Linked DNA regions of Homo sapiens: region 1 is linked to region 2. The links are contacts of gene promoters, found by promoter capture Hi-C in human tissues and cell types (Jung and others, 2019). All regions are on one chromosome and are shown on one strand. Each heading gives the region's core, a stretch centred on a gene start or on the middle of the fragment in contact. The rest is flanking DNA. Distances are from core to core; before and after follow the strand shown. Region 1 has its middle 22 kb from the start of PLSCR1. Region 2 holds the start of PLSCR4 (phospholipid scramblase 4).

The links. Contacts are between HindIII fragments. The study calls those that stand out against the background at their distance.
Region 1: a contact is called between a fragment that was not itself captured here and the fragment with the promoter of PLSCR4 in region 2, in 2 of the 25 tissues and cell types used here (mesenchymal stem cells and neural progenitor cells).

Annotation. Positions count from the first base shown.
Region 1 is chr3:146,563,138-146,570,592 of GRCh38, reverse strand. No RefSeq gene overlaps it. Among named protein-coding and RNA genes, the nearest start is that of PLSCR1, 22 kb to the right of the region's middle. The HindIII fragment of the contact is 7,756 bases long and covers 1-6,043 here.
Region 2 is chr3:146,248,771-146,255,518 of GRCh38, reverse strand. PLSCR4 (phospholipid scramblase 4) reads left to right here and starts at 4,414. Exons shown (of 9, transcript NM_020353.3): 1 at 4,414-4,559. The HindIII fragment of the contact is 8,514 bases long and covers 2,017-6,748 here.

The DNA of each region.
Region 1 (7,455 bases), core at 916-3,415, 320 kb before region 2:
AAAGAAAATTTTCATTTTCTATTTGAATTAAGAGTTTTCACTCCCTTTCCAGGAAATATTTTAACATAAGTTCTAATAAGAAGCATAATCCACACATTTTAAATATTATGTCTTTTAATTCTCAAAAGAAGGTAAATATCAGCAATGAAGACATCACTAACCAAAACAAAGTAGTCAAAACATGTAGATTTCACATAAACAAATGTATAATCAGTTGCTGACTGTTTTGCTTACATATACTTAATAAATGCACCAGTCACTGTGCACTTTGGCACAAGAATTAGGAGCCAGATTTGTGTATTGGTAAAATAAAATAAAACAGAAGCTTAATTTTTTGTTTGATTTCATAACACTATAAAAGAAAGAAAAGAAAAATTGTAAATGTATAATCCACATGAATGATTCACAAACTGTCACAAGTAATTGACAAACTGCTAGCTGTTTTCTTAGATATTAGTATTACTTTTCTGAAACAAATAAAAATTCTATCAAATATATATATATTATAAAACATTTCCAGCTATAGGAAATTAATGTTATCTCCTTCTTACCCACAGTCTTTAATAACCACTATGAATGAACTATTCAAATTTTCCATGAGATGAATGTACAAAAACATTATTGTATTGCTTTGTATTATAAATAACATGGATTTTGCAAAAATAAATACCATAAGTAAAGTAGAATGGATTTTTTAAAACATGCATTCAATAATTATAAAAAGATTTACAGTGAGTCACTCTTAGAGTAAACTCTTTGGTATGACTTATGATTCTTTTTCATTGTAGAAGGTAAAACATATTTCAACTTTTGATATTCAACTTTTAATTCTATCCCTTTGTTCTCACAAAATAGGGTCCACCATGTGCATTTATGAATGCAACAGACGTTTATATAGGCACATCACTCACTGTATTTATGCCTGGTTGTGGCTTCCAGAGAATACCAAAATGTAAATATCTTTGCAAGATGGAATGTTTCCGTTATTCAAACTGCAAATTGAACAGCTGTGAGGGCTGAGGAATTATCAAAAATCACCACACAGGATGCAGATTTTAATTCCTGCCCTTCACACATTTATGCACAATTACAAGAACAAGAAAACAAAAACAAACCTGCACATGTATTAGCCTACAAGAGAGGGAGGCAGTGAAACCTCAATGTTGAAAAGCTGAAATACGAGTATAACACCTTTCAAATTCAATTCTGAAGCAAAAAGAATTACATCTTAATTTTAAATCTCAGCCTGACTAACTTTATTCAAATTTAACTATGCTTGAGGCACTCTGATTTTCCTGCATTCATTTATGCTTTTCCCTCTCCCTTAGTACATTTTTTTTCTATTTTTCTACCTGCCCAAATGCTCTTCATATTTAGTTTTTGTTTTTATTTTTGAGGCAGGGTCTCACTGTCACCCATGCTGGAGGGCAGTTGTGTGATTACAGCTTATTGCAGCCCTGAATTCTGGGCTTAAGAAATCTTCCCACCTCATCCTCCTTGAATAGCTGAGACCATAGACACATGCCAGTATACCCTGCTAATTTTTTTTTTTTTTTTTTTTTTTTTTTGTAGAAATGGGATCTCAGTATCTTGCTCAGGCTGGTCTCAAACTCCTGTCCTCAACCGATTCTCAGTAAGCCTCGCAAAGTGCTGAACAGGCATGAGCCACCATGCCTGATTTACTTTATCTTTTAATGTCAACACAGTTTCTGCCTCAAAATTGTTCTCTAATTTTTGTCCAGTGTGTGTTACTTTCTCCATTCACTTCATGCAAAAAAAAAAAGTAATGGTAAGTTTATTATGAAATTACCATATTCTACTGTGTATTACAGCTATTTACTTTCTGTCTCTGATGCACTTTCTTTATTAGACTGTGAGCTCGTTCTGGGCAGGATTTGACTCAGAACCATTTTTGTGTCTGTTCCCCATGGTGTCAAGAACACTGTGCTTTGGATATAATTAATTTCCATAAACATCAATTGTCTTATTGTATACCAGATGAAAAATTTAAGCAGATACTTGTAATATCAAAGACTTGACTAATATTCATCATTGAAATTTCACAATGGAGAGTATGTCAATCATCCATTACAACTTTCCATGTAAAATGAACAAACAAACAAACAGGAGTTTTATGTAACTACAAGCTCAGGCAACTGCCTAGAAAGCCAAACATTTACCGAGATAAATTGACAGAAATGTATGTCCATAACATAGGGGTAGCTATGGCACTGCATGTGTCAATAATTGAAATGGTTTGGCTGTATCCCCACCCAAATTTTACCTTGAATTGTAATAATTTTCATGTGTCAAGGGTGGGGCCAGGTGGAGATAATTGAAAAATGGGGTCAGTTTCCCTCATACTGTTCTTCTGGTAGTGAATAAGTCTCATGAAATTTGATGGTTTTATAAATAGAAGTACCCCTGCACAAGCTCTCTTTCTTGCCACCATGTAAGACGTCCCTTTGCTCTTCTTTAATCTTCTGCCATGATTGTGAGGCCTCCCCAGTCATGTGGAACAGTGAGTCCATTAAACCTCTTTCCTTTATAAATTTCCTTTATACCAGTCTAAGGTATGTCTTTATTAGCAGCATCAGAATAGACTGATAAGTAAATTGGTACAGGGTAGTGGGGTGCTGCTGTAAAAATACCCAAAAATGTGGAAGTGACTTTGGAACTGGTTAACAGGCAAGGATTGGAACAGTTTGGAGGACTCCAAAGAAGACACGAAAATGTGGGAAAGTTTGGAACCTCCTAGAGACTTGTTGAATGGCTTTGACCAAAATGATGATAGTGATATGGGCAATAAGGTCCAGGCTGATGTGGCCTCAGAAGGAAATGAGAAACTTGTTGGAACTGGAGCAAAGGTGACTCTCTATGTTTTAGCAAAGAGACAGGTGGCATCTTGCCCCCGCCCTAGAGATCTGTGGAACTTTGAACTTGAGAGAAATGATTTAGGCCATCTGGTAGAAGAAATTTCTAAGCAGCAAAGTGTTAAAGAGGTGACTTGCGTACTGTTAAAAGCATTTGGTTTTATGCACTCACAAAGATATGGTTTGGAATTGAAACTTATGTTTAAAAAAGAAGCAGATCATGAAAGTTCAGAACATTTGCAGCCTGACAATGTGATAGAAAACCCATTTTCTGAGGAGAAATTCAAGCCAGCTGCAGAAATTCTCATACATAACAAGCAGCCAAATGTTAATCACCAAGACAATGGGAAAAATGTCTACAGGGCAGTACAAAGGCCTTCACGGCAGCCCTTCCCATTACAAACTAGGAGACTTAGGATGAAGAAATGGTTTCCATAGGCCGGGCCAGGGCCTTGCTGCTTTATGCAGTCTCAGGACTTGGTTCCCTGCATCCCAGCTGTGGCTAAAAGGGGCCAACGTACAGCTCAGGCCGTTGCTTCAGAGGGTGCAAGCCCCAAGTCTTGGTGGCTTACACGCAGTGTTGGGCCTGCAGGTACATGGAAATCAAGAATTGAGGTTTGGGAACCTCCATTTAGATTTCAGAGGATGTATATAAATGCCTGGATGTTGAGGTGGAAGTCAGCTGCGAGAGTGGAGCCCTCACTGCTAGGGCAATGTGGAAGGGAAATGCGGGGTGGGAGCCCCCACACAGCATCCCCACTGGGGCACTGCCTAGTGGAGCTGTGAGAAGAGGGCCACTGTCCTCCAGACCCCAGAACAGTAGATCCACTGACACATTGCACCATACACCTGGAAAAGTTGCAGTCAGTCAAAGCCAGCCCAGGAAAGCAGCTGGGAGGCGGGCTTTACCCTGCAAAACCACAAGGGCAGAGTTCCCAAGACCATAGGAACCCACCTCTTGCATCACTATAACCTGGATGTGAGACATGGAGTCAAAGGGGATCATTTTAGAGCTTTCAGATTTTACTGCCTCACTGGATTTCAGATTTGTGTGGGGCCTGTAACCTCTTCATTTTGGCCAATTTCTGCCATTTGAAATGCATGTATTTACCCAATGCCTGTACCCCCATTGTATCTAGGAAGTAGCTAACTTGCTTTTGATTTTACAGGCTCATAGGCAGAGGGCAGGCTCTGAGACATCTGCCTTGTCTCAGATGAGACTCTGGACTGTGGACTTTTGAGTTAATGCTGTAATAAGTCAAGAAGTTGGGTGACTGTTGGGAAGCATGATTGGTTTTGAAATGTGAGAACATGAGATGTTGGAAGGGCAGGGGTGGAATGATATGGTTTGGCTGTGTTCCCACCCAAATCTCATCTTGAATTGTACTAATCTCCAGGTGTCAAGGGTGGGGCCAGGTGGAGATAATTGAATCACAGGGGTGGTTTCCCCCATATTGTTCTCATAGTAGTGAATAAGTCTCATGAGGTCTGATGGTTTTATAAACAAAAGTTCCCCTGCACAAGGTATCTTGCCTACCACCATGTAAGATGTGTCTTTGCTCTTCCTTTGTCTTCTACCATAATTGTGAGGCCTCCCCAGCCATGTGGAACTGCGAGGCCATCAAACCTCTTCCCTTTATAAATTACCTAGTCTCAGTTAGGCCTTTATTTACAGTGTGAGAACAGACTAATACAGTGATATTACATCTTGGATGTTACAAACACTATTATTATTTTTTCTTCAGTAGTAAAATATCTAAACTGTAGTTTTAGAATTTGGAACACATAAATATAACATATATTATAAAACATAAAATGGGTTTGGGCAATATCAAAATATGAGTGTCACTCAGTAACTTAAAAACAAAATCTTAAGTTGTATTAACTTCCAAATTTTATGTCTACTCAATAGATAAACAGGTTATTCATTGGTTGACACCTGGGAGGACTAAATAATACATATTCACTATTCTGATGATATTTCTAGGAGACCAAAAAAAACTGGTAATAGAACATAAAAAATGTTCTGTGGAGAAATTAAATAGTTAAAGAACAAAAAGAAACCTCTACAAATTTTGGAAATACCTCAAAAAATCATATTTTAAACAAATCACCATATAGTGTGGAAAATTGATGGGCAAGCCCTGCTGCTGAGATCTGCTATTTTACTTCCTCTGGCATAAATATAAATATACTATCTGAAAATCCCCAGACATTTAAGAAAATCCTCAGAAAAACAAAAATCAAAACATAAAATAAACAGAGACATTGCGAGTAGCAAGAAAAAAAATTGGGGAAAAATCCCAATTAATAAGATAATAATATCTTGTGGAATATAAAAAAAAATCTACCTAACAAGGATAAGAAACTTTTTTTTTGTTTTTTTGAGACAGAGTCTCACTCTGTTGCCAGGCTGGAGTGCAGTGTCACAATCTTGGCTCACTGCAACCTCCAACTCCTGGGTTCAAGCCATTCTCCTGCCTCAGCCTCCCAAGTAGCTAGGACTACAGGTGCACGCCACCATGCCCAGCTAATTTTTGTATTTTTATTAGAGAACAGGGTTTCACCGTGTTGGCCAGGATGATCTGGATCTCTTGACCTCATGATATGCCCACCTCGGCCTCCCAAAGTGCTGGGATTACAGGCGTGAGCCACTGCTCCTGGCCAAAACTGTTTTTTAAAAGGATATTTGGGGGAGGCAGGGGGAGATGAAAATAAGATACTAAAATTTAAAATTAATTTAGTGTCAGAAAGATAAATTGAGAAAACCTGCCAGAAATTTAATCAAAAAAAAAAAAAAAAACAGGAGAAAAATAAGGAAGAAAAGAAATGAAAGGGGGAGGGAGGAAGAGAGAAAGAAAGAGAATAAAAGAGAAAATTAAATTTAAATATCCTATTGTGAAATGGCCATGGGTTTACCTTGGCCAGTAAAAAGAGAAATAACCATTGCAAGCAAAGCTACTCTGTTTTTTTGTTTTTTGTTTTTTGTTTTGAGGCAGGGCTCAGTTGCCCAGGCTGGAGTGCAGTGGTGTGATCTCGGCTCACTGCAAGCTCCGCCTCCTGGGTTCATGCCATTCTCCTGCCTCAGCCTCCCGACTAGTTGGGACTACAGGCGCCCACTACCACACCTGGGTAATTTTTTGTATTTTTAGTAGAGACAGGGTTTCACCATGTTAGCCAGGATGGTCTCGATCTCCTGACCTCGTGATCCACCCGCCTCGGCCTCCCAAAGTGCTGGGTTTACAGGGTGAGCCGACCATGCTGCTCTGATTCGGAAGGAGCTAATCTTGGTAGCTTTTATGCTCTGTTTCATATTTCATGAAGGCGATTTTCCCCCTGGATTCCTGGGTTTTGCAACTGTGGATTCAACCAAGTGCAGATCAAAAATATTCAGAAAAAAATAATGTAATAGAACTTCAAAAACCAGAACTTGAATTTGCTTTGCCAAGTACTATGTAGAATCCACACAAATGAAGTAAAACGTATGGATTTTAATAGATATTGTAATAATCTAGAGATTATTTAAAGTGTAGAGGAAAAAGTTTGTAGATCACATGCAAATACAAGACCATTTCATAATAAGGGACTTAAGCATCCACAAACTGGGATATCTGAGGGAGGTTCTGGAACCACTCCCCCAAGGATTCCAAGAGACAATTGTACTCTTTTTCAAAATAAAATATTTAATTTCTTCTATGAAAAAGAATTATACACTGGGTGTGATGGACACATGCTTGTAATCCCAGCACTTTGAGAAGCCAAGGTGAGCAGAACTCTTGGGCCCACCAGATCAAGACCAGCCTGGGCAACATGATGAAACCCCATCTCTACCAAAAATGTAAAAATTAGATGGGCATGATGGACCACATCTTTAGTCCCAGGTGTTGGTAGCCTAAGCCGGAAGGATCAGTTAGCCTGGGAAGTTGAGTCTGTAGTGAGCCATGATCATGCCACTGCACTCTAGCCTGGGCAACAGAGTGAGATTTTGTGGAAAAAAACAAAAAACAAAAAAAAAACTATATATAATTTGTAAAAGAGTTCCATAAGGTTTGACTGTGTCCCCACCCAAAATCTCATCTTGAATTGTAATCCCCATAATTCCCATATGTCAAGGGAGAGACCAGGTGGAGGTAATTAAATCATGAAGGCAGTTTTCCTTATGCTGTTCCTCTCAAAGAAAAAGTTTCCCTTATGCTGTTTTCCTGATCTCATGAGATCTGATGGTTTTATAAGTGTTTAGTACTTCCTCCTGGGTTCATTCTCCTTTCCGCTGCCTTGTGATAAAGGTGTCTTGCTTCTCCTTCACGCTTCTGCCATGACTGTAAGTTTCTTGAGGCCTCCCAAGCTATACAGAACTGTAAGTTCATTAAACCTCTTTATTTTATAAATTACTCAGTCATGGACAGTTCTTTATGTGTGAAAGATGTGCTAATACAGTAAATTGGTACCCACAGAGAGTGGGGTACTGCTTAAAAGATACCCGAAAATGTGGAAGCGACTTTGGAACTGGGTAACAGGCAGAGGTTGAAACAGTTTGGAGGGCTCAGAAGACAGAAAGATGTGGAAAACTTTGGAACTTCCT
Region 2 (6,748 bases), core at 3,165-5,664:
TGGAACTGTGTGTCTATTGGGGACGCTCCAATGATGCCAGCAGAAAGGAGAAGGCAGCAGCTGAAAGGACTGGACAGAGATTTCAATTGCTGTATACAGCAAATGAAATACTGTTTGGAATCTGAGTAACACAAAGGATAGAGGAGCCTAGTAAAATCTTCAGGTATTCAATAGTCATGCCTTAAAGTATAAACCAATGGCTCCGGATGTTAAAGGTGATCAGCCCTCAAATGCCTGCCAGAGAATGCTTTCTCCTTAGAGGAAGAAGACATAACTCAGATATATTATTTGCAATGCCCTGTGCATAATAAAAAAGTAATATCCATTGTAAGAAAAAGAAAATCATGACTCATCATCCAAAAAAAAAAAAAAAAAAAAAACCAGCCCATAGAAATACATGACAAGGTGAAATACATGTTGATATAAAGTAGTAAAACAGTATGTTAGGGTGTTCTTGCATTGCTATAAAGGAATACTTGAGACTGAGTAATTTATAAAGAAAAGAGGTTTAATTGGTTCTGCAGGCTGTACAGGAAGCACTTGAGACTGGGTAATTTATAAAGAAAAGAGGTTTAATTGGCTCTGCAGGCTGTACAGGTTTAAATGGTTCTGCAGGCTGCACAGGAAGCACAGTGATACCATCTGCCTCTAGTGAGGCATCAAGAAGCTTACAATCACGGCAGAAAGCAAACGGGGAGCAGGTGTATTAATGGCAAGAGCTGGAGTGAGACAGAGAGGGGAGAGGACACACTCTTTTAAATAACCAGATCTCACAGGAACTACCAGAGCAAGAACACACTCATCACTAAGGCAATGGCACTAAGCCATTCACAGGAGATTCTCCCTTATAATCCAAACACCTCCCAACAGGCCACCTTTAACACTGGGGATTACATTTCAACATGAAATTTGGGAGGGACACAGATCCAAACCTTATCAAACAGTTATTATAAGTTAAAAAGTTAAGAAAATGATGGTCTTAGTGAATGAACAGATGTGAAATCTCATCAAAAGACATGGAAGCTGCACAAATGAACCAAATAGAAATACTAGCACTGAAAAGTGTTAATACTGTAATGGACTTAACAGTAGATTGAAATAAGGGTCAGCATATTTTTGAGACGGATCCATAGAAATTATTTAACTTAAAGAGAAAAAAATCAAAAAAATGTAAATAAAGTCTTGGTGAGCTGTGAGTCAGTATCATATGGTCCAACATACAATTAATTGAACTGAATTTCCAGAAGGAGAAGAGAGAGAAATGGGTATGGTGCAGTAAAGAAATAATGACTGCAAGTTTTTCAAATTTTGTGAATAATATCTACTTATGTATCTGTGAAACTCAGAAAACCACAGTAGAATACAGAAAGAAGCATACATCATAGACTAACTGCAGAAAAACCAATGATAAAAAGTTATTCTTAAAACCAACAATATGCATTCTGTCAGATAAAAATGGAGGTCAAAATTGTTGGGGAATAAAATAAAAAAAATCTGTACACCCAGAATTCTATAACCAGTAAAAATATCATTACAAAATTCATACAAAATAAAAACATTTTTAGATTTAAAAATCTAAAAAGATTTTGTCTGTAGCTGTTCTGCACTACAAGAAATACTAAAGGGACTAGGTATAGTGGCTCACACCTGTATCCCAGCACTTTGGTAGGTCAAGGCAGGCAGACTGCTTGAATCCAGGAGTTTTAGACCAGTCCATGTAACAAAGCCAAATCTTGTCTCCCCCCTCCAAAAAAAAAAAAAAAAATTAGCTGGGCATGGTGGCATGTGCCTGTAATCTCAGCTACTTGGGACGCTGAGGTGGAAGAATCACCTGAGCCCAGGAGGTCGAGGCCGCAGTGGGCTGAGGTTGTGCCACTGTACTCCAGCCTAGGCAACCAGAGTGAGACACTGTCTCAAAAATAACAAGAACTACTATAGGAAAGTCTCTAGCCTGAAGGTAAGTGATAATAGGTGAAATTAAGATCTATAAGAAAAAAAACGAGGAGCACAGGAAATTGTGTATATGTGGAAATATAGAAAAGCTATTTTCTTCTTTTAATTTCTGTAAAAGACAATGCACTAGTTAAGCAAAACTTAAAACATTTTGTTGTGTAAAGTCTATAATTAATGGGTATGTAAAATCTGATAGCATTTGCACATACAATTGAGGAACTGTAAAGTAATTATAAATTTCTTAACTTTATGTGAAGTGGTACATTATTAACTCTAAGTAGACTGTGGTAACCTAAGAACAACCAGTGAAAAGGAAATAACACGAAGAAATACACTTGGAGCAACAGAGCAACTAAAATGGGATTAGTATAAAAAGTAGTTAATTTGTCATCCCTCGAAATGTCCAGGTTGGAAAGTCATCAGATCAGGAAATTTCAGAAAAACAGGAAATTGAGTTCTTCTTCTTCCCCTCGAAAGTTGTGATTTGGGGTATATGACATACTTGATTTTATTTTAATCCCTCAAAGCAATATGTTTCACAAGACATGTTTTGCTCTTGAAATTTTTGGTATCTTCACGTGGCCACTGTGGATGTTTACATTCATAAGCTCAATTACTTGGCCTCTTTCATAAATTTTAAACAAAGGTAACATGCCGAGACCAGCTCAGTCGGGGAGACCCTAACCCAGCGGCGCTAGAGGAATTAAAGACACACACACAGAAATATAGAGGTGTCAAGTGGGAAATCAGGGGTGTCATAGCCTTCAGAGCTGACACCCCCGAACAGAGATTTACCCACGTATTAACAGCAAACCAGTCATTAGCATTGTTTCTATAGATGTTAAATTAACTAAAAGTATCCCTTAAGGGAAACGAAGGGATGGGCCGGATTAACTGCAGCAGGAACACGCCCTTAAGACACAGACCGCTCATGCTCATTGTTTGTGGCTTAACAATGCCTTTAAGCGGTTTTCGCCCTGAGCGGGCCAGGTGTTCCTCACCCTCACTCCCGTAAACCCACAACCTTCCAGCTTGGGCATTAGGGCCATTATGAACATGTTACAGTGCTGCAGAGATTTTGTTTATGGCCAGTCTTGGGGCCAGTTTATGGCCAGATTTTGGGGGGCTTGCTCCCAACAGTAACATATGCTATTATAATTTAGTTTCACCACCAGTTTCTTTGTTTTATGCTTTCAGTAAAACACTATGTCTGCATCTGAGAAATGTTCTGTGCAATTATTACTGAGAAGAACAGTATGAATTTTTTAATCTATTCTCACATGAATATTAACAAATAACACACATACAAAGAAAAATATAAAATTCTAGAACTCCACTCCCACATCCCTTCCCCTTTCCAACCTTCTCCCACAATGGGGTTCTGCCAAGTACTCCTCAGAGCTTAATCAAGCTTACTTCTGTCCAGTTCTGATTCTTTATAAGGTCAGAGGACCTTCAGTTCTCCCACTTCCTGTCAGTGTATTGTGCTTCTCTCCAAGCACCACCACAGAACTGAATCCCATTGGTCTGAAAGAAATATTTGTGCCTAACAGTAATAAGCAAATGGCATTTTTCTCCCAATGTCAGAAAACATGGGCAACCTGCTCCCTTTCCCCTTTATTGGCGTCTCTCCCGCCTTCCCTCCAAGATCAAATTGGCCTCCCCCAATTCTGTGGAAAAGAAAACAGAATTTCTGGGCCCTATGCCCAAGTGTTTCCAGCCAGCACGGCATTGCCAAGGCTAAATCACCAAGCCAAGGACCTGGGGGTGGGCGCAAATGCAAATCAAAAAGGCTCTTGAGGCCGGGTGCAGTGGCTCACGCCTGTAATCCCAGCACTTTTGGAGGCCGAGGCGGGCGGATCACGAGGTCAGGAGATCGAAACCATCCTGGCTAACACGGTGAAACCCCGTCTCTAGTAAAAAATACAAAAAATTAGCCGGGCGTGGTGGCGGGCGCCTGTAGTCCCAGCTGCTAGGGAGGCTGAGGCAGGAGAATGGCCTGAACCTGGGAGGCGGAGCTTGCAGTGAGCCGAGATCGCGCCACTGCACTCCAGCCTGGGCGACAGAGTGAGACTCCGTATCAAAAATAAAAATAAAAAAATAAAAAAGGCTCTTGAGAAAGAGGGGTTTCTTCATTTTCTCTCTAGGCGCAGTAATCTATGAACAAAGCTCCCTTTCCCAGGCCCTGCAACCTGCCCCTCTGATTGGAAGTGACCGTGGGCTGGCTTTTATCTTTTCTTTCACCTCTTATTAGAGTAGTGACAACTTATTTTCTTCATTTCTTCCTCCCCCTCGGCTTTTAGGTTTCAGCGGACTTCAGGGTGCCCCACCTCTTCCAGGAAGACGCTCCCCCGGGCTGGCGGCTCTCCCAGCGCGGGGCGGGGTCCGAGACGGGGAAGCCGCGCGCGGGGAAGGAGGGTCCAGGCGTGCCGGACCCGCCCCCAGAACCCGCGCCTAGCCCTCCCTTCCGCGCGCTTACTTTGTTTATAACTTGAAAAATCCTCTCCGTCTCCCTTCCCTGCCTCCTTTCCTTTCCCTTTCCTCTGCCAGTACAACTAGACCCGGCGTCTGGCGTCCCCGGTGCCCAGCATTCTGCGGGGCAGGCGGTGAGTGGGGCTGGACAGGCGGGCGCAGAGCAGGACAGGGTGGCGCGGGCGCCCGGGCTGCGGGGCCGAGGGCGTCGTCAGGGGAGGCCCGAGGCCGCGGTGCCTGCGGGCAGGCGCGGAGGTTGCGCGGCGTCCTGCGCTAGCAGTTCCCGGACACTGCGCTCGCGTCGCATCCTCAGGTGGTTGCAGAAGTTCCGTGGTGTCGGGCGCGCGTCTGCACTGCAGACGCAGAGGGTTTGGGAGCGAGCAGTTTCCTGCCCAGGGATGGGGGTCCTGGCTGCACTTCACGGGGGCGGCCCTTTCGTTTCGCTCTGCGTGACAGGTCTCGCTTGATTGGGTTTCTCATGGGTCTCTGGCGTTTCTACGGCGCGGCTCTCACGGACTCAGGCCAGGCCACTCGCAGGTAAAAACGCTATTTATAGTAACTTTTTAATTGCTCAGCGAGTGGAGGCGGTGACAGGAGAGAATCCCTCTCTCTTATTTCCAATTCTGGCAAACTGGGGCGATTTGGGGCTGTGCTTGATTTGTTTTTAAAAACGTTCATATTTAAAGACTTAGGATTTTATTTTGTGGCCTTATCTTCTCTTAGGATCTACAATTTAGTTTTTAATTTTATACTGCATTTAGAATGGAGCCACCAAAATAAGTACTTGTGAAGATATAATGCACCAAACTTGATACTGCTTAAAGGGGAATAGATTGCCTAATTTAAATTGCATTCTCCTGTAATAGTAATAGAACACAACCTCCATCTGTCTATCTGCTCTCATGGATAGCTGTGAAATACTAGCAGCATTTCCATTAAATTTGAAAAAGACAAGAATGCTAATCATTACACTCTGTGACATGGTTGTGAATTCTATGGGCGAGTGACAACAGGTAGGGGAACATATTATCACTTTATGCATGATGTGAGTGTATACCTTAATGTCCATAGGAAACACTGAAATTTGATGGGAAGCATAAGTGAATTTATCAAAGTTTCCAATTGCATCATACTTAATTTATAGAAGTCAGTTGATGTTTATACATAAACTAGATAATACAGTAAAATAAAGTAAAATTCAGTTTGGCATGAAATAACACACAATTGAGAAATTATTTTTAAGAAGATATAAAAAGGTATGTATGAGAATCCAATAAAATACATAACATTCTTCTAGGTAAAGATATCATTTCTCTAAAACAACGTATAAGTAGAATCCTAACTGAATATTTTTGTTACTGTTTTTAACTGTACTGTTTAGCTCATGTGGAAGAACAAACATATTAACGTTATGTATAATATATTACAAATAATAAAATACAAAATATATAATTATGTCTTATTTTATATATTATATATGATTTTAACATTTAATATTATACATACACACATATATATAGTGGAGACTTCTTCATATAATAAAAGGTGTTACAAAACTGTGGTGATTAAAAGACAGTGCAGTAGACCTACTACCAGATGTGTAAATGAAACTGAAGAGACATGGAAGAATAAAAGGAAAGCTGGCATTTGATAAGCATACATTTTAAATCACTGGGTGGGAAGAAGAAATAACATTTAATTGAATGTACTTGGACAAGCAGGAATTTGTTTGGGAAACCTAATAATAAAACTGGAACTTTTCCTCACTGTTAATAGACAAATGTAGTCTAGATGGCTTACTAGTTTAAATCTAAACATATGCAGCCTAAAAAGGGAAAAAGAAAGCCTGAATAGATATTTGTGCACATTGCATGTGGGAAAAGCATTTCTAAGCATAATACAAAAACCTAGACCCATTTAGGGACATGATTTTTATTAACATTTGCATCCCCCAAAAAAGATACAAACTGCGGACATTGTTAATAGAAAAAAAAAGATAATTTTGCTAATATACCTAGAAATCTTATTAATGACCTTCAAAATCAATGACCCAGTTAAGGATAAAAAGAGTCAACTCAAAGCAAAAGAAATGCAAATAATAAGCAGAGTGAATACTGTTAGCCACACTAATTATCCAAAACATATATGAAGTAAGACATCAATTTTTGCATTAATTTTACAAATTTTGAAAGTCTGATAACTTTAGGTGTTGTTGAAAATGCAGTGAGGAAAATATAATTTTACAAACTTTTAGTGGAAATGTGAATTGGTGAAGCTGTTTTAGGGTTAAAGCTGTTCAGATTTACAAATGTTCATTTACTTA